7 separate regions of the Homo sapiens genome follow, and all the other regions are linked to region 3. The links are contacts of gene promoters, found by promoter capture Hi-C in blood cells and fetal thymus (Javierre and others, 2016). All regions are on one chromosome and are shown on one strand. The core of a region is centred on a gene start or on the middle of the fragment in contact, and the rest is flanking DNA. Distances in the headings are between cores, read along the strand shown.

What was found. Contacts are between HindIII fragments. The CHiCAGO score rates a contact against its expected background, and 5 or more counts as called.
Region 1: a contact is called between a fragment that was not itself captured here and the fragment with the promoter of TTI2 in region 3, in 9 of 17 cell types (total CD4 T cells, non-activated CD4 T cells, total B cells and 6 more). The highest score is 13.2, in total CD4 T cells.
Region 2: a contact is called between a fragment that was not itself captured here and the fragment with the promoter of TTI2 in region 3, in 1 of 17 cell types (non-activated CD4 T cells). The highest score is 5.3, in non-activated CD4 T cells.
Region 4: a contact is called between a fragment that was not itself captured here and the fragment with the promoter of TTI2 in region 3, in 1 of 17 cell types (naive CD8 T cells). The highest score is 6.2, in naive CD8 T cells.
Region 5: a fragment that was not itself captured here is called in contact with the fragment with the promoter of TTI2 in region 3 in 3 of 17 cell types (neutrophils, activated CD4 T cells and non-activated CD4 T cells); the score reaches 6.1 in neutrophils.
Region 6: a contact is called between a fragment that was not itself captured here and the fragment with the promoter of TTI2 in region 3, in 2 of 17 cell types (neutrophils and non-activated CD4 T cells). The highest score is 8.3, in neutrophils.
Region 7: a fragment that was not itself captured here is called in contact with the fragment with the promoter of TTI2 in region 3 in 2 of 17 cell types (neutrophils and non-activated CD4 T cells); the score reaches 7.4 in neutrophils.

Annotation. Positions count from the first base shown.
Region 1 is chr8:31,036,492-31,039,191 of GRCh38, forward strand. All of the region lies in intron 1 of WRN (WRN RecQ like helicase), which reads left to right. Among named protein-coding and RNA genes, the nearest start is that of WRN, 4.0 kb to the left of the region's middle. The HindIII fragment of the contact is 782 bases long and covers 868-1,649 here.
Region 2 is chr8:30,634,864-30,637,563 of GRCh38, forward strand. GTF2E2 (general transcription factor IIE subunit 2) reads right to left here. Exons shown (of 8, transcript NM_002095.6): 3 at 169-260. Among named protein-coding and RNA genes, the nearest start is that of SMIM18, 2.4 kb to the right of the region's middle. The HindIII fragment of the contact is 2,146 bases long and covers 229-2,374 here.
Region 3 is chr8:33,511,876-33,514,575 of GRCh38, forward strand. It overlaps TTI2 (TELO2 interacting protein 2), which reads right to left and starts at 1,260. Exons shown (of 8, transcript NM_001102401.4): 1 at 1,207-1,260; 2 at 92-837. The coding sequence starts at 738. SNORD13 (small nucleolar RNA, C/D box 13) reads left to right here and starts at 1,600; the gene lies at 1,600-1,703. RefSeq lists an enhancer at 1,292-1,431 and a silencer at 1,862-1,911. The HindIII fragment of the contact is 19,476 bases long and covers 1-2,700 here.
Region 4 is chr8:30,741,934-30,744,642 of GRCh38, forward strand. UBXN8 (UBX domain protein 8) reads left to right here and starts at 2,231. Exons shown (of 8, transcript NM_005671.4): 1 at 2,231-2,344. The coding sequence starts at 2,257. LOC105379356 (a long non-coding RNA gene) reads left to right here. Exons shown (of 2, transcript XR_005646967.2): 2 at 1,778-2,139. LOC105379355 (a long non-coding RNA gene) reads right to left here and starts at 1,744. Exons shown (of 2, transcript XR_949634.2): 1 at 812-1,744. RefSeq lists enhancers at 1,740-1,879, 1,914-2,709, 2,120-2,199. The HindIII fragment of the contact is 4,701 bases long and covers 1-2,709 here.
Region 5 is chr8:30,650,958-30,653,657 of GRCh38, forward strand. GTF2E2 (general transcription factor IIE subunit 2) reads right to left here. Exons shown (of 8, transcript NM_002095.6): 2 at 2,476-2,645. The coding sequence starts at 2,641. Among named protein-coding and RNA genes, the nearest start is that of GTF2E2, 5.9 kb to the right of the region's middle. The HindIII fragment of the contact is 6,292 bases long and covers 1-2,700 here.
Region 6 is chr8:30,711,287-30,713,986 of GRCh38, forward strand. It overlaps GSR (glutathione-disulfide reductase), which reads right to left. Exons shown (of 13, transcript NM_000637.5): 2 at 776-802. Among named protein-coding and RNA genes, the nearest start is that of GSR, 15 kb to the right of the region's middle. The HindIII fragment of the contact is 2,628 bases long and covers 1-2,588 here.
Region 7 is chr8:31,016,434-31,019,133 of GRCh38, forward strand. It overlaps a transcript of PURG not described here. Among named protein-coding and RNA genes, the nearest start is that of PURG, 16 kb to the right of the region's middle. The HindIII fragment of the contact is 5,501 bases long and covers 1-2,700 here.

The DNA.
Region 1 (2,700 bases), core at 9-2,508, 2.5 Mb before region 3:
TTTCTCCACATCCTCGCCAACACTTATCTTTTGTCTTTTTGGTAATAGCCATTCTAACAGGTGTGAGGTGATATCTCATTGTGATTTTGATTTACATTTCCCTGATGGTTATTGATGAGCAATGTTTCATATACTTGTTGGTTATTTGTATATCTCCTTTTGAGAAATGTCTATTCAGGTCTTTTGCTCATTTTTTAAATATGGTTTTTTAATTTTTTTATTTTTTTGCTATTGAGTTGTTTGACATCCTTAAACATTTTGGAAATTAACCTCTTATTAGATGTATAGTTTGCAAATATTTTATCCGATTCTGTAGATTCTGTCTTCAGTCTGTTGAATTTGCTGTGCAGAGAAGCATTTTATTTTGATGTAATCCCTTTGTCTATTTTTGCTTTTGTTACCTTTGCTTTTGAAGTCATATCCAAAAAATCATTGCCCAGATCAGCAGTCCCCAACCTTTTTGGTACCAAGGACTGGTTTCATCGAAGACAATTTTTCCATCCACAGGAGGGAGGGGATGGTTTCAGGATATTTCAAGCGCATTACATTTATTGTGCACTTTGTTTCTATTATTATTACATTGTAATATATAGTGAAATAATTATACAATTCACCATAATGTAGAATCACTGGGAGCCCTGAGCTTGTTTTCCTGAAACTTGAGGGTCCTATCTGGGAGTGATGGGAGACAGTGACAGTTCATAAGGCATTAGGTTCTTCTAAGGAGCATACAACCTAGATCCCTTGCATGCGCAATTCACAGTAGGTTTTGCGCTGCTATGAGAATCTAATGCCACCGTTGATGTGTCAGGAGGTGGAGCTCAGGTGGTAACGTGAGGAATGGGGAGCAGCTGTAAAGAAAAATGAAGCTTCGCTTGCTTGCCTGCTGCTCACCTACTGCTTTGTGGCCTGGTTCCTAACAGGCCATGGACTGGTACTAATCTGTGGCCCTGGGGTTGGGAACCTCTAGCCCTGACCAATGTTAGGGAGCTTTTTTCCTGTGTTTTCTTCAAGTGGTTTCATGGTTTGGGGTCTTACATTTAAGTCTTTAGTCCATTTTGAGTTGATGCTGTATGTGGTGAGAGATAATTGACTACTTTCATTCTTTTGCATATGGTTATCAGTTTTCCCAACACCGTTTATTGAAGAGCCTGACCTTTCCCCATTGTGGGTTCTTGGCTCTTTTGTCAAAAATCAGTTGGCTATAAATATGTGGTTTTATTTCTTGGGTCTCTGTTCTGTTCTATTATCTGTGTGTCTCTTTATGCCAGTACCGTGCTGTTTTAATTACTAGAGTTTAGTATATTTTGAAGTCAGGTAGTGTGATGCCCCTAGCTTTGTTCTTTTAGCTCAACATTGCTTTGGCTATTCAGAGTCTTTTGTGAGGATAATGTTTTCAAGGTTCACCCATGTTGTGGCATGTATCAGAACTCGATTTCTTTTTATGGCTGAATAATATTCCATTTGTTTATATTATATATATGCCATATTTATTTATTCATATGTTGATGGACACTTAGGTTGTTTCCACCTTTTGGCTATTGTGAATAATGCTGTTATTAACATTGGTGTACAAGAATCTGTTTGAGTTCCTATTTTCAATTCTTTTGGGAATATACCTACGTGTGGACTTACTAGATCACATGGTAAGCTTTTAGTTTAGCTTTTTAAGGAACTGCTAAAACTGTTTTTCCATGGGAGCAGTGTACAAGTGTTCCAGTTCTCCATATGCTCACCAAAACTTAATTTCCTTTTTTAAAAATTATAGCTATCCTAGTAGGTGGTGGGAAGTGGTATCTTACTGTGGTTTTATTTTGTATTTCTTTAATGACTAATGATGTTGAGCATCTTTTAATGTGCTTATTGGCCATTATATGTCTTCTTTGGGAACTGTCTATTAAGTCCTTTGCCCATTTTTTAATTGAGTTTTTTTTTCTGTTGAATTGTGGGAGATCTTTATATATTCTGAATATTAAACCCTTATTGGGTGTATGATTTGCAAATAATTTCTCCCATTTTGTGGGTTTTCTTCACTTTTTGATATTGTTCTTTGATTCACTTTTAAATTTTTATAGAGTCCAGTTTATCTGTTTTTTCTTTTATTACCTATGCTTTTGGCATCATACCTAATTCCCAAATCCAATGCCATGAAGATTTTCTGTTATGTTTTCTTTTAATAGTTTTATAGTTTTACTTTTTCTATTGGAGTTTTAAGTAAATTCTTGTATATTAGTGTGATACATTTTAAGTTATTTTTGTATATGGTGTGAGGTAGGGGTCCAACTTCACTCTTTTCCATATGGAGATCCAGTTGTCCCAGCACCACATGTTTAAGAGTCTATTCTTTCCCCACTGAATGGACTTGGCACCCTTGTCAAAAATCAATTGGTGGTAAATGTATGGATTTACTCCTGGAATCTCAATTCTATTCTATTGTATTTATATTTCTGTCCTTATGCCTGTACCACACTGTTTTGATTACAGTAGCTTTGTAGTAAGTTTAGAAATTGGGAAACATGAGTCCTCCAACTTTGTTCTTCTTTTCAAGATTATTTTGGCTATTTGGGGTCCCTTGCAATTCTGATGAGTTTGAGGATCACCTTTTCCATTTCTGCAGAAAAGCCTTTTGATAGGGATTGCATTGAATCTGTAGATAACTTTGGGTAGTATTGACATCTTAACAATATTAAGTCTTTCTAT
Region 2 (2,700 bases), core at 52-2,551, 2.9 Mb before region 3:
AATGTAAAAGGCTTGAGGTATAATTGGCATACAATAAACTGCACATACTGAAAATGCACAATTTTGATAAATTTTGATGTATACAGAAATTTAACTTCTGAAAACCCTAATCTCCTTCTTTTGCCAAAAAGTTAAATAGGACTTTTGCTATCTGAGAAAAGTACTTACCTTCATGTAATTCACAATCTTAGCAAGAACACCAAACTTATATCCAGAGCTTCCTGACAAAGCTTTCAAGTTAAATGATCCATTGCTATGATCTGCAAATGAAGTTCAAAATAACATCGTCATATTATGTGTGATTATGACTCTTGAGCAGCTAAAATAATTTTAATGCTGGTAACATATTTCTTGAGTTTTTCATCTAGTATATTCTACCCTGTAATATTCTGGTGAAAAATACACAATCTTTGAGTATATACATTAAAGTACCAATTTTCTCACTAAGGGTAGAAACAAAGTATAAATAACTTAAAACACCAAACCACAATTCTTTTATAAATATCTTTATCACATTATTTTTTATTATATTTTTTGAGACAGGGTCGCATTCCCATTGCCCAGGCTGAAGTTCAATGGCACAATCACAGCTCACTACACCCTCAACTTCCCAGGCTCAGGTGATTCTCCCACCTCAGCCTTCTGAGAGGCTGGGACTACAGGTGCACACCACCATGCCTGGCTAATTTTTTTATTTTTTGTAGAGATGGGGTTTCGCCATGTTGCCCAGGCTGGTCTCAAACTCCTGGACTCAAGAGATTCACCCATCTCAGCCTCCCAAAGTGCTGGGGTTACAGGTGTGAGCTACTGCACCAGGCCCCTTTCTCCTTTATCTCATTCTTATCTTAACTCTGATTAGACTCGCTCCATAATCAGAAGTACACTTTATTAAACAAGGAAACAATACAAACCTCAATCCCATCCATAAAGCTAACACAAGGAGTGGATTACTTCTGAGGGAAGAAAAGTTCAATATACCACTTTTTACATCAATTTCTGCTTACCAATTTAAGACCAAAAAAATAGGAATTAATGGAAACTAATAGAAAAAAGATATCACAATTATTTTAAAGTAAACTTTACAGATAAATTAGGAATAAAAAGCCACAGGCACTGCCACTGCATGAACATGGATGCTTACTTTAAAAAGCATCACAGCACTACCCACCCACTTTGAGAAACACCCCCCTCTCCTTCTCTATCTGGTGTGGAAAACCCTGTACAAAAGATCATTTGTTTCAAAATATCTATCATTTTGTTGCATTCTTACAAGCAGAAACCCTAATGTCACCACTGCATCACAAATGCATTCCATTAGTCATAACCAGGAACAGTAAAAAATCCATCATAAATACTAGAAAAACATTTTAGAAGTACACATTCTATTAGCAAGGCATGAGATCAGATATTATAAAGTTCCCATGTGGCTGATCCACAAAGAGAGAGGTTAAGTAAAAGGGGAGAGGAGAACCAATCTCTGGCACCAGGTTGGTAATAATAATTTAAACAAAAGATTGCATTAGAACAACCACAAGTCAAATGTAACAACTGTCAGAGATCCAAAAGAACAGCTTCTAGATGGCAATACCATACTCCTTTGAGATTAGTGAAGTCTTTATTGAGTATCCTTTTTTGAGACTAAAATGAAACTTCATATGCAATTTTCCTTTAAAACTAACTTTGTTACAATCTTAATTAATTGGCACACTGAAGTCTACCATGTTTCCAAAAGTAACAATAACATTAAGAATGCCTTACAGTTGGGAAGCCCAGGTGGGCAGATCATGAGGTCAGGAAATCGAGACCATCCTGGCCAACATGGTGAAACCCCGTCTCTACCAAAAATACAAAAATTAGCTGGGCATAATGGCACGTGCCTGTAGTCTCAGCTACTTGGGAGAATCACTTGAACGAGAGAGTTGGAGGTTGCAGTGAGCCGAGATAGTGCCACTGCACTCCAGCCTGGCAACAGAGTGAGACTCCGTCTCAAAATTAAAAAAAAAAAAAAAAAGAATGCCTTATAGGTGCTTTTCCATTCACTGTTTCAATTATGAAATATTACCTACGTAGTTCATTCTCCCAAGGTGTTCAGCACATCTGTAATAAAAGTAACCAATATTTATTATCTGCTAAACACTATGGTAAATATTCATACGTAATCCCTCCCAAAAAATCCAACTTAAGAAGTATTACTGTCCCCTTTTAAATATAATAAAATTGAGGGTAGTAAGCAGCAGAGTATAGATTCAAATCCAGTGTAAACCCTGTAATAAACAGCCTTTACACAGATTATTCCATCTGAAACTGGCCATTTTGTCAAAGTACAGAAATCTGTGACTGCACATTTAATGCTTGTTTAAGTAAAATAATATTAAGCTTACCCCACGCAACTGTATAAACAACTGGGAAGACTATGAAAAAAGAGATGACAATGTGTTAAGGACAAACACCACACAAATGGCCAATTATGAATCACAAACAGTTGTGCTTATGAGACATGATGCTTATGTCTCTGGCATCTACTACTAACTCAATGTCAAGCTTAGTAAACACTCAATAAATATTTGTTGAATGAATGACTATAATACAGATATTTCTATGCATTCCTTTATGGCCCCAGAAACTAATGTACCAATTCATCTATAATTTTATTTTATTTATTTTATTTTATTTTATTTGAGATGGAGTCTCACTCTGTCG
Region 3 (2,700 bases), core at 10-2,509:
TGAAACTCTGTCTCGAAAATAAATAAATAATAAAAAATAAAAATAAAAAACTGTGAGGCTCAAGTCGGTGGCAAAGGGCAGGAGTACTCACTTATACAAGTCGGGTTTGAGAAGCCCTAGTATCACCGAAAGTCTCCCTTTCTCATCTTCATTTTCTCCATGTAGGAATCCTGCCACAGAACCGCATTCAGTAACTTGAAGCAGTGAGGTGAGCACCTCCCTAGCAACTTCCCGAGATCTCGGAGTGGTCCATGGTTGCTCCAAGCTGTGTGTGATGGCAAAAATATAAACGGGTCCTGCCAAGTGATGCAGGCCCGTCTGCCATGCAGGGCCGACCAGGGAATTCTTAGCAGTCTCAACTTTCCCTAACAGTTTAAGAAACAGTAACCCAACTTGGGCTGCTTTCTCGGCCGCTTCGGAGTGCCCATCACCTCCACCTTCCTCCTCCTTGGAGGGGGCTGCATACTTCTCCAGGGCTTTTGCTACCTGCCCCAGTGTCTCCGGCATTCCGCGGAGCCGTGCACCAGTCCCCTCAAATAACCTATCAAATTCTGTGGCTTCTATTAGATCACCGAGGTCTTTAAGAACTGCATCTTTTACATTGCCTCGTCGTGCCTCCGGGCGGGCAAGACAGTGTAAAATCTTGGAGAAGGCCTGTCCAAAGGCGGAGTGAGACAACTCCTCGGACAAATTAGAGTCTTCCTGCGATGGGGCTTCCAGAGCGCTGTCAAGCTCCATTCCTGACTGCAGCACCAGAAGGCTGGTCTCTCCCACAGAACGAGGATGGAGGCGGGGAGGGATCCGTTGAAGAGGGAAGGAGCGATCACCCAAAGAGAACTAAAATCAAATAAAATAAAACAGAGAGATGTCTTGGAGGAGGGGGCGAGTCTGACCGGGATAAGAATAAAGAGAAAGGGTGAACCCGGGAGGCGGAGTTTGCAGTGAGCCGAGATCGCGCCACTGCACTCCAGCCTGGGCGACAGAGTGAGACTCCGTCTCAGTAAAAAAAAAAAAAAAAAAAAGAATAAAGAGGAAAGGACGCAAGAAAGGGAAAGGGGACTCTCAGGGAGTAAAAGAGTCTTACACTTTTAACAGTGACGTTAAAAGACTACTGTTGCCTTTCTGAAGACTAAAAAGAAAAAAAACTTAAAAATTTAAAGAAATAAACTTCTGAGCCATGTCACCAACTTAACCACCCCCAGGTACCTGCAACGGCTCGCGCCCGCCGGTGTCTAACAGGATCCGGACCTAGCTCATATTGCTGCCGCAAAACGCAAGGCTAGCTTCCGCCAGTACTGCCGCAACACCTTCTTATTTCACGACGTATGGTCGTAAAGCAATAAAGATCCAGGCTCGGGAAAATGACGGAGAGGTGGAACTATAGAGAATAAATTTGCATATATAATAATCCGCTCGCTAATTGTGTTTCTGTTTTCCTTTGCTAAGGTAGAAACAAAAGAATAATCACAGAATCTCAGTGGGACTTTGAAAATATCCAGGATTTTATACGTGAAGAATGGATGTATCGCATTACGGTAGTCACCCTATGTGTAAATTAGTGGCACATACTTGGCACTCCTTAATGTCAACTATAAGATGATCCTTTTGTAGTTCATGAGCGTGATGATTGGGTGTTCATACGCTTGTGTGAGATGTGCCACCCTTGAACCTTGTTACGACGTGGGCACATTACCCGTCTGACCTGAACTTCAAGGATCGATTTAACACTTGTATTTGTGGGCTTGTTACTTATGATAACAGGTGGCCTAGTTTCATGGCTTTGTGTTTACCGTTTTCGGGTGCCCTTTTTTCTGGCTGTATGCTACACGCACGGGTGCTTTTCCGTTGTCCAACTGTGTAATGTGTTTTTGTGTTTGTTCTTTTGTGAGTCGGAGTCTCGCGTTGTCGCCAGGCTGGAGTTGCAGTGTTGCGATCTCGGCTCACTGCAACCCCCACCTCCGGTTTTCGAGAGATTGTCCTACCTCAGCCTCCCGAGTAGCTGGGACTATAGGCGCGCGCCACCACGCCCAGCTAATTTTTGTATAAATATTGGCAAGGATGGTCTCGATCTCTTGACCTCGTGATGCGCCCGCCTCGGCCTCCCAAAGGGCTGGGATTACAGGCGTGAGCCACCGCGCCTGGCCAATGCAGAGCTTTTTAATGGCTTTAATTTTTTAGGTTTGGGAGATACCTGCGCAGGTTTGTTACCTGGATATGTTGTGGGATGCTGGGATTTGGAGTGCAGCTTAGCCCGTTTTCATTGCCCCCTCTAGTAGACCACAGTGTCTGTTGTTGCCACTTTTATGTCCACGTGTTCCTAATGTTTAGCTCCCACTTATGAATGAGAGCATGCGGTATTTGGTTTTCTGTTCAATGCAATACTTTAGCTGGTTTCTGGAGCTAGCGTTTTAAAGCCTGTAGCCACAAGCGTTTGAAAATTCAAATTCTAGCGTCAAGGTAGAAGCCCCCAGCTGGCGTCTGGGGCAGCCCTGAGGGAGGTGGGTCGTCGGGTTGGCGGATCCGGCTTGGGCCCGCCCCGCCAGTGTCGGCGCCGGGTGCGCAGGGACAGCAGAGCGCTGTCTTGGGCATGGGTCGCAGGCGGCGCCCGGAACGGGCCAGGGGAGCTGGAGGCTGCAGACTCGGGCTCGGCGGGTGTAGGAACCAGTGGTGTTTGCTTGGGTTTTGAGAAGGCGCGAGAAG
Region 4 (2,709 bases), core at 83-2,582, 2.8 Mb before region 3:
GTAGTCCAGAGAGAGATTCAATGGCGCCATCAACAGATTAAATTAGGTAATATGGAAGACCAGGGAGGAAGAAAAAAATACAGGAGGTAGGTGGTTAAGAACTGTAGAACTTCCTTTCCTGTCTTCCTCCTTATGCATGATGAACACAAGATACAGACTGTAGAACTTTCTTTCCTGTCTTCCTCCTTATGCATGATGAACACAAGATACAGACAACTATGGGAACATCTGAACTAGTCAATATAATTAATTATTTTATGGTATGTCATGCTGTAATTTATATTACCTCACCCTTACTGATCTTCAGATTGTGCCCTAATATTTTGCACCTTTGCTTGGAGGATAAAGTTCTTAGCCTATATACAAAGGAAAGCCTCTGCGGCCCTAGCAACAATCTACCTCTAAAAGCCTTCATTCAGCTTTATTTTATTTTTAGAGACAGGGTCTCACTATATCGCCCAGGCTGGAGTGCACTGGCATGATCTCAGCTCACTGCAGACTTGACCTCCTGGGCTCAAGTGATTCTCCCACCTCAGCCTCTTGAGTAGCTGGGAGCACAGGCTACGCCATCACGCGCAGCTATTTTTTTTTTTTAGACAGGTTTAGCTATGTTGCCCAGAGGGGTCTCGAACTCCTGAGCTGAAGCAATCTGCCTCCTTCCGCCTCCCAAAGTGCTGAGAATACAGGAGTGAGCTACCGCGCCCGGCCTCAAGCTCTAAACTGCAGCAATAATCACTGGTAGTTCCTTTGCACTCAGGTTCCTAAACTTGAAATCCCACCCTTCCCGGACATCCTTGCCCAGATTCCTAACCTTTGAACACAACGTAGGCGTGACTTCCTTTTGGAAAGCCTTTTGCAAGCCTTCTGGGTATGGTTCTGCAACACCCTGTGTATATCTCTATCATAGCACTCAGGAACTGCATTATGTTTATTTGCTTACAGGGCTATCTTTCCCAGTTTTTTTTTTTCTTCTCCATAGAACCACAAAGTCGGATAAGCTGAGTTTCTTGAGGACAAATTCAGTAACTTGTAAATATTTGAATATCCAAGAGTTGTAGAGTACCAAACTGTGGAGCTCAATAAATTTCAGATGAACTAAACTGAATAGTCAGGTGGGATGCTAGATGGATGGGTCAGGAAAAAGAATTTTCTTTTTTCTTGCAAAGTGTTGGGATTACAGGCGTGAGCCACCGCGCTTAGCCAGGAAATATAATTTCTTTCTTTCTTTTTTTTTTTTTTTTGAGACGGGGTCTCATTCTGTCGCCCAGGCTGGAGTGCAGTGGTGCAAACTCGGCTCAAAGCAACCTCCGCATGCGGGTTCAAGCAATTCTCCTGCCTCAGCCTCCCGAATAGCTGGAATTACAGGCGACCGCCACCACACCCGGCTAATTTTTGTATTTTTAGTAGAGACGGGGTTTCACCATATTTGCCAGGCTGGTCTGGAACTCCTGACCTTGTGATCCGCCCGCCTCGGCCTCCCAAAGTGCTGAGATTACAGGCGTGAGCCACCGCGCCTGGCCAGGAAAGATAATTTCCAAGTACGAAATGTTGTAGATTGGGAGGACCTCAGTAGCTTGGGAGAAGTGCACAGTGGTGAGTTATAGGACGGCAATGAGGTCATGGAACTATGAAGTCAAGGTTAACAATAACGCGTGCAGGCAAAACTGAAAAGGGGCGGAACAAGGGGTAGCGGGTCTCCAGGACCTGGCATTAGGACGTGCGTGTTAGGGGGCAGGTATTTGGAGCCAGGCCCCACTTTCGAGTTGTCTTTCCGCAGGAACCAGAGACTGCGGACGGGGCCAGGAACCAGGAACCGTTAGGGAGATAAGGAAGGTGTTATAGCCCACATTCATCCTATACGGCCACAAGGCCGGGGGGCCCAGGCTGCCTCCTCACAGCATCAGCTTTTTCTTCGGCTTCATTTCCCTCTGGAAAGCGCTTTCTCACAGACGCTGCAAAGACCGAAGGGGCAGCCCCTGCCCTGCTACCCTCCAGGGAGCCACCGCTCTAGAGCCCAGGCTCCTCTGGACATCATGTGACTTGGGGGACGACTTGCCTTTCTTCTGAAACACGGCTACAGACTATAACTTTAAAACACGGGGCTTAGCTCCCCCTCAATAACGACACGGCCGTCAGTATTTACCACGTTATTGACCCTCTCCCAGCCGGCCCGCGGCAAGAAGAGTTCCACTTCCTTCCCGGAAAACGCGGCCGGAAGGGGCGGGCTTTCCGCCTGCACCAGGCGCTTCCGCCACCATGGCTTCACGTGGGGTTGTTGGCATTTTCTTCCTCTCTGCTGTCCCCCTTGTGTGTCTGGAGCTCCGGCGTGGGATCCCGGATATAGGTAAGTGTGACTTTTTCCCTTCGACAGTCACAGCTGGGTAATTTTCACAGGAATGTTGCATAGAACGACCGCCTCTTCGGCTGCGTGGCTTCGGAGCAGCTTTGACTACAACTCCCAGACTGCATCGCCCCTGCCCCCCCACTTCCGGAGCTGACTTCACTTCGAGGAACCTTTTCCCTCCAGGTGTGATGGTTTTACGTGTAAGAGGGTAGAGGCAAAGAGCACAGGGGCAATCATAGACAGTGCTTTCGCATCCTGGCGAACACTGAAAAGGAAATAAACAGGTTGATAAGATGAAGGTCTTGTGAGAATTTAGGCTGAGAAGTTTTTTGTTTTGTTTTTAGAGACAGGGTCTCACTATGTTG
Region 5 (2,700 bases), core at 132-2,631, 2.9 Mb before region 3:
GAGCTGAGATTGCGCCACTGCACTCCAGCCTGGGCAACAGAGCAAGACTCCGTCTCAAAAAAAAAAAAACCACCTCTCAACAAACTAGAAATAGAAAGGAACTTCTTCAACTGGAAAGGGCATGTACAAAAACCTGCAGTAATATCATGCGTAAGAGTGAAAAACCGAATGCTTTGCCCCTAAGATCAGGAACAAGGCAAAGGTAGCTACTTTTACTATTCAATGTACAGCCAGTCCAGACAGGCAAGATAAATAAAAATTAAAAAGTTCACACCGGAAAGAAAGAAAGAAAACTGTTCTTATTCACAGATGACATAATCTTGACATAGAAAATCCTAGGGAAACCACACAAAAAACTACGAGAAATAAAAAACAAGTTCAGTCAGGTTACAGAATACAAGATCAATGTATTAAAAAAAACTCTTGTTTCTATATACTAGCAATGAACAATTTAAAAAAAAAAATCAAAGAAAACAATTTCATTCATAAGTGAGATTGAATCAGAATAAAATAACCGCTGGGTGTAATGACTCACACCTATAATCCCAACACTCTGGGAGGCTGAGGTAGGAAGATTGCTTGAGGCCAGGAGTTTGAGACCAGCCTGGGCAACAGAGCAAGATCCTGTCTCTACAAAAAATTTGTAAAAAGCCATCTATTCATTGACTGGAAGATCTAATATTGTTAAGATGGCAGTTCTTCCCCAAATTGATTTATAGATTCAATTCAATCCCTATGGAAATCCCAGCAGGCTTTTTTGCAAATGTTGATAGATTGACCCTAAAATTTATGCAGAAAAACTAAAACAATTCTTGAAATAAAAAAGAACTAAGTTGATGGACTTACATTTCTCAGTCTCAAACCTTAATTACAATGCTACAGCACTCAAGAGAAATGATACTGGCATAAAGATAAACACAGAAGTCAATGGAACCAAACTAAGACTCCAGAAATAAACTCTTTGATTTATGGTCTACTAATATTCAACAAGGGCGCAATATAATTCAACAGGGGAAAGATCATCATTTCAAAAAATGATGCTGGGACAACTTCATAAGAACACGCAAAAAGATAAATTTTGACTCTTATGCTAATCCATACACAAAAATCAACTCAAATATACTACAAACCTAAATGCAGGAGCTAAAACTACAAAACTCTTAGAGGAAAACACAGAAAAAAATTTTCATGACCTGTGTCAGGCAAAGATTTCTTAGATATGACACCAAGAATACAAATGATAAAAGAAAAAAACTGGTAAGGTGGACTTCATCAAAATTAAAAACTTTTGTACATACAAAGACACTATTAAGAAGATAAAATGACAAGCACTTGCTTGGAGAAAATATTTGCAAATGTATACCAGATCAAAGAATGGTAGCCAGAATATATGAAGAATTATTAAATCAATAGAGAGAGGAAATATACCTCAGTTTTTTTTATGGGCAAAAAAAAATTGAATAGACATTTCACCAAGGAATACACATGGTCAATAAGCACATGAAACAATGTTCAACATCATTACTCATTAAGGAAATGCGTATTAAAGCCACAATGATAGAACTTCACAACTATAGAAATAGCTATGATTAAAAAAAAAAAAACAGAATTTCAAGCGTTAGCAAGGATGAGAAAAAACTAGAACCCTGATACATTGCTGGAGGAAATATAAAATGGTACAGCTATTTTAGCAGTTTCTTAACAAGTTAAATATAAATTTGACATATGACCCAGAAATCTACTTCTAGGTCTCTATCCAAAAGAGATAAAAAGATATGTCTACACAAAGACTTGTACATGAATATTCATACCAACACTATTCAAAACAGCCAAAAAGTGAAAATAATCCAAATAACCGTTTATTGGTGAATGGATAAACAAACTGTGGTACATATATCCATACTATGGAATACGCTTTACCAATAAAAATGGAATGAAGTACTGATGCATACTACATGGATGGAACTCAAAAATATGCCAAGTGAAAAAAACAACACACAAAAGACCACTTACTGTACAATTTCATTTATAGGAAATATCCAGAAAAGGCAAATATACAGAGCCAGAAAGCAGATTATTGGTTTTCCGGGGCAGGGATGGGAAAAGTCACTGCAAATGGGCACATCAGATCTGCTGGGGGTGATGGAAATGTTCTAAAATTGGACTGTAATAACAGCTGCAAAATTCTGTAAATTTACCAAACATCTTTGAACTGTAAACTTAAAATGAATGAACTGTATGGTATGTAAATTAAACCTAAATAAAGTTTTTTTAAAGAGGTAATAACCTAAATTTTAACTACAGCACAAGACTATTAACATCCTAAGAGCTTAAATTCTCTTGTCCCATCCTTTATATTCAACAAAGTGCCTATCAACATGAGTGCTGAACTGAAAAATGAACTAGCCATAACTAAACGGTTTCCTCCTGAATAATCTGAATAAAAACCAAACAGTCCTAAACAATTTTACTAACCAGAATTTTGTTTAGAGCCTGACGATCCTCCATGTTCTACCTTTGTTTTCTTCTTCTTTGACGATGATGATGATGACTCAGAAGATGCTGAACGTTTTTCTACTACAGGAGTAGAAAGAGCTCGTTTTTTGAACAGCTCCCTTTCTCTCAACAGGCTTGGATCCATAATGCTACAAAGAAAAAATAAGTGTCTTTAATACAAATTCAAGTCACTCAAACCTGCAC
Region 6 (2,700 bases), core at 25-2,524, 2.8 Mb before region 3:
AGTGGTAAAATTCTTTGCAAGTATAAGCAAGAGGCAGCTTTACAAATAAGAGCTGCTGTTTTTTCCTCTTTGTCAAGGGTAAAAAAAATGAATTCATTCAATGTGACCTGCACCACAGATATTAACAACGAAAAAATCACTAATGTGATACAGAAAATCCATGAACCCACAGAACTTGAGAAGATTCCATTCAACAGTTTGGTTTGCTGGCTGGGTCTTTTTGCTGAGAAAAAACTATCCTGTGGTGTAGATGACCAGGCCTTGGCTGGGGTCTGTGGCTCATGCCTATAATCCCAGCATTTTGGGAGGCTGAGGTGGGCAGATCACCTGAGGTCAGGAGTTCGAGACCAGCCTGGCCAACACGGTGAAACCCCCATCTCTACTAAAAATACAAAAATCAGTCAAGTGCAGTGGCGCACGCCTGTCATCCCAGCTACTTGGGAGGCTGAGGCAAGAGAATCACTTGAACCCAGGAGGCAGAGGTTGCGGTGAGCCAAGATCGCGCCACTGTACTCTAGCCTGGGTGACAAGAACGAAACTCCGTCTCAAAAAAACAATAATAATAAAAATAAAAAGTAATTAAAAATAAATAAAAAAATTTAAAAAACACAAATCAAACAAAAACAATCCTATTGCTTAAGCTACTTTTAGTAGGGTCTAGGGGTTTTTTTTGCAGAAAGAATTTTAACTGATCTATTTGGAAACATTCTGATTTTGATTATGATTTACCAAATAGAAAAAGGATTGTAAAGGGAAAGAGAAATAAAAATTCTACCTTTTTGGGTACACATCCAACATTCACCTGGAAAAAAAAAAAAGAGACACACTTTAAGAATATTGAATTCAAACCATCAAACGAAATCTGCAAGAAATGCACGCTAAGCATCAAGCGAGGAGTCTTCCTTGGGTTCTAAGTCACAGTGTACTAAATTCTAGTTACTTTCTTTGTTACAAAAAGATAAGAACATTATTTTCCTTCTGTAATGAGGGAGAGAAGTTCATTCATCAGCATTTTTCTTGGACGGAGAAAGAACAATCAGCCCATTTGAGCTGCTGTCTAAGAGGACTTCTCGGGAAAGTACTGCAGAATACATGGATAAACACCCAAGATGGGCCAGGGCTTGGTAGTTCACACCTGTAATTCCAGCACTTTGGGAGCTGAGGCAGTTGGATTGCTTAAGCCCATGAATTCGAGACCAGCCTGGGCAACAAGCGAGACCACGTCTCTACAAAAAAAAGTAGCTGGGTGTGGTGGTGCATGCCTGTGGTCCCAGCTACTCAGGAGGCTGAGGTGGGGGGACCCTTTGAGCCTGGAAAGACAAGGCTGCAGTAAGCCATGATCATGATCATGCCACTGCACTCCAGCCTGGGTGACACTGAAAGACTCTGCCTCAAAAAAGAAACACACACACAAAGAAAGGCTGAACATTGAGATACTGGTGAATACTCACCAAAAGCACAAAAATTTAAAGTACATGGCATGGAACTTAGGATATTGATTAACCATTAGTACAGAAACTTGAGAAAACCTAAATAAATATTAGATCTCATAAAATGACTTTGATTTATAACTACTAGGCATTTGGCCTAAAGAAGTAACCAAAGATGTAGAAAAGCGAAATGCACAAATGCACAGATTATCATGTTATGTACAAATACATATTTGGTTACAATCATTTCCATTTCACTCTTAGTTAATATATAGAAATACACTTATGGAATAAAAGTAGAAAAAGCAAGACTCAGAAAACTACTTTTTTTTTTTTTTGAGACGGAGTCTCGCTTTGTTGCCCAGGCTGGAGTGCAATGGTGCGATCACAGCTTACTGCAAACTCCACCTCCCAGATTCAAGCGATTCTCCTGCCTCAGCCTCTTGAATAGTTGGGACTGTAGGTGTGCACCACCATGCCCAGCTAATTTTTGTATTTTCAGTAGAGATGGGGTTTTGCCATGTTGGCCATGCTGGTCTCGAACTACTGACCTCAGGTGATCCACCTGCCTCAGCCTCCCAAAGTGCTGGGATTACAGTCATGAGCCACTGTGCCCAGCCAGAAAACTACATTATTTTTTTGTTTGGTTGTTTTTTTTTTGAGACTGAGTCTCACTATATCGCGCAGGCTGGAGTATAGTGGCAAGATCTCAGCTCACTGCAACCTCTGCCTCCCAGGCTCAAGCAATTCTCATGCCTCAGCCTCCCGAGTAGCTGAGATTACAGGCGCCTGCCATCCTGCCTGGCTAATTTTTGTATTTTTAGTAGAGATGGGGATTCGCCTTGTTGGCCAGGCTGGTCTCGAACTCATGACCTCAAGTGATCCACACACCTTGGCCTCCCAAAGTGCTGGAATTACAGGCATGAGCCACCACGCCCAGACGAAATCTACATTTTTTAAAAGTAAAGATAAAAGATAATTTAAATAATGAAATATTTTTCATCTGTCAGATTGGCAAAAATTTTAAAGGTTGACTATAACTAGTGTTAGCAAACATATCCTGATTGGCCCAGCAATTCTACTTTTACAGTAACCTAGAAAAGTAGTCACATATTATGCTCCCGTGTCCAAAGATGCATTTATGGGGCTATTCCTTGAAGCTTGGTGATAACGGGTAACTACAGACAGGTTAAATATCCATCGGCAGGGAAGTAGTAAATAGTTATACATTGAGTCTGTGGAATATTCTGCAGCCATTTAAAAGGGCAAG
Region 7 (2,700 bases), core at 96-2,595, 2.5 Mb before region 3:
AAAATAAAGTGAGCCCTGGATACTACTTATTAATATTGTAACCAAAAAAATCATCATTCCATGGTGTCATGACTGACAGTATTTAAAACTTAAGCAATTTGTGCTGGAAAAACGATATGGAAGAAAGAATGCAAGTCTACCAAGAACCAAAAAAAAAAAAAAAAAAAAAAAAAAAAGAAAGAACGCAAGTCCACAGTCTAAGTGAATGACAAAGAGTGGCTTCCAGACCACTTGTATCAGAATGAGTAAGACGATGAAAAATGCCAATTTCTGAACCCCTCTCTTGAACCAATCAAATCAGAATCTCTGAGGATGGGGACCAAACCTGTATTTTTATTTAATACACCTGCACACTTGTGTTTGAGAATCACTGGACTAAATTTTAAAGGATGCAACTGCTGTCATTTTAATGGGGGTTAGAACTCATTAGAAGCAAATGTAGAGTTTAATACTTAAGAGTATCTTTGATGACATCATCATGGCCATCATTCTAGTTTCTCAGAGGCATAGTGGAGATGCTCTGCTCTTTTAAAGGAGAGATGATCAAAAGAAAAAAGAAAAAAGGAAAGAGATTTCAAATAATCTCTTTCACATATTAGAAGAGACACATTCCAGGTGAGTCACATGGTAGTTTGTGCTGCAACTGCCAGCTATCTGGCTAAGCTAGAAATTTTTAGAGCTACAATGAAAACTTTTATGTCTCTAAAGCAGGAATGATAAATAGCAAATATTTGGCATGAACACTGTTTTTTCCCTCTCCCTGTAGATACAAACACAGCACTTTAGGGCAGCCAATCAATTGCAAATACAAGCGAGATGAAACCCATTTACCACTACTTCTCCAGGGACAAGAAAAAGGTGAATAGGATTGGGATCTCTTTTAAAAATTTTTACATATATATGTAAAAAATTGTATATATATGCATGTGCAATATATGTATGTTTAATATATATTACACATACTCTCTATAAGAGATTATATATCTATATCTATATCTATCTATTATATATAAAGGGTATGTAATATTTATCTGGAGGAATAAAATTTGCTTAGCCAAATATTTAGAAATGTGCAATATAGTTTATAGATGTTTGTGTGATAACATTTAAATCACTCAGATCTCTCCATAAAAGCTACTATTTGCCCACTTGAAATCTGGAAATGTTACAGTATCACAAGAAAGCACAGATGATTAGAAGAAGTGACAAGAAAAAAGTGGACACCACCAGGCAGAATCGAGTTTCATATGAATTCACTAGGTCCTGAATTTAGATATGATTGCATTTGTAGCAATAATGAACTTACTTGGAAACTTGTTGTCTAAAACAAAAAATTTAAGATGAAATTAGCAAACGATGTTGCTTCTTTCCACCTTAATTAGCAGTGCAAGAAAAAATGGAGAAAGATATTATAGATGTTTCGACTTTTAAACAGAATTTAATGTGAATTTTATAAAGAAAAAATTTGATAATATCCAATAATTTGGTTTTCCAATTTACCCTATTGCCTCTTGTGTCATTCTAAATAAACCGACAGCAGGTACTTTTGAAATAGCACTATAAATACTAAATTTATTCCTTCATATTTTTGAAAACAGATTGAAAGTGAAAAGTTTCTTTGAAGATTATAAAAGGTAGACTTAATCTTACAGAATAAATTTCATAAATTCTATTTAACTAGTCATTTAATTAATAAAGTTCATGAAAATTTAAAACCTAGTTCTTACGTTGTTTTGCAATAACAAAGGATGGGAAGAAGGATTTCTTTTCTTTATATGTTTTCACAATAATATTAGAAAATTTGAAATCACACTTCTTTATCCAAACCAGTAAATTAACAGAAGGCCTGAAGGCAAAAGTTCCAATGATTATTTCCAATAAATTCTGAATCCCTCAGAGTGGAGAAGAATCTGAGCCATAACAATTCACCTTTTCTGATTTATTAATTCCCTTTATGCATCCCACATTCAGTGCGTGCCTAAATAATTAATTCCAGGAGCAGAGAAGTCATGCAATCCTTAAAGTTTGCCCTAATGTTGAGCTGAAGTCTACTATAAATTTATTCTGCCTGAAGCCTACTCAAAGTATAATTCTAACACTTAATTTTTTTAAATCTAAAATTTATCTTGTAGCCATAATGCAAATGAATAGAGAATTTTTAAAAAAGTTACATTGCCTGTAATGATCCATTTGAGTTTGTGACTATCTCTGTTATGTCAGCAGTTAGTTAATCATTTTCACAATTAGGAACTCATTCAGTGTTCTGGAGTGCTAATCATTCAAAGGTAGTAGCTGTTAAGAGAAGTCAATGAACTTGCAGAACTGCCAAATGTCTATGTATGAATTAATTTAATACTTCAATACAATGTAATCCACTAGAATGACAGCATTAAGGTTTATATATAGTTATAGATATTATATAGATTTAGACATAAAATATGGTTTTATTATTGGGAGGCTGAGGCGGGCGGATCACGAGGTCAGGAGATCGAGACCATTCTGGCTAACATGGTGAAAACCCGTCTCTACTAAAGAATAGAAAAAATTAGGCGTTGTGGCGGGCGCCTGTAGTCCCAGCTACTCGGGAGGCTGAGGCAGGAGAATGGCATGAACCCGGGAGGCGGAGCTTGCAGTGAGCCGAGATCGCGCCACTGCACTCCAGCCTGGGTGACAGAGCGAGACTCTGTCTCAAAAAAAAAA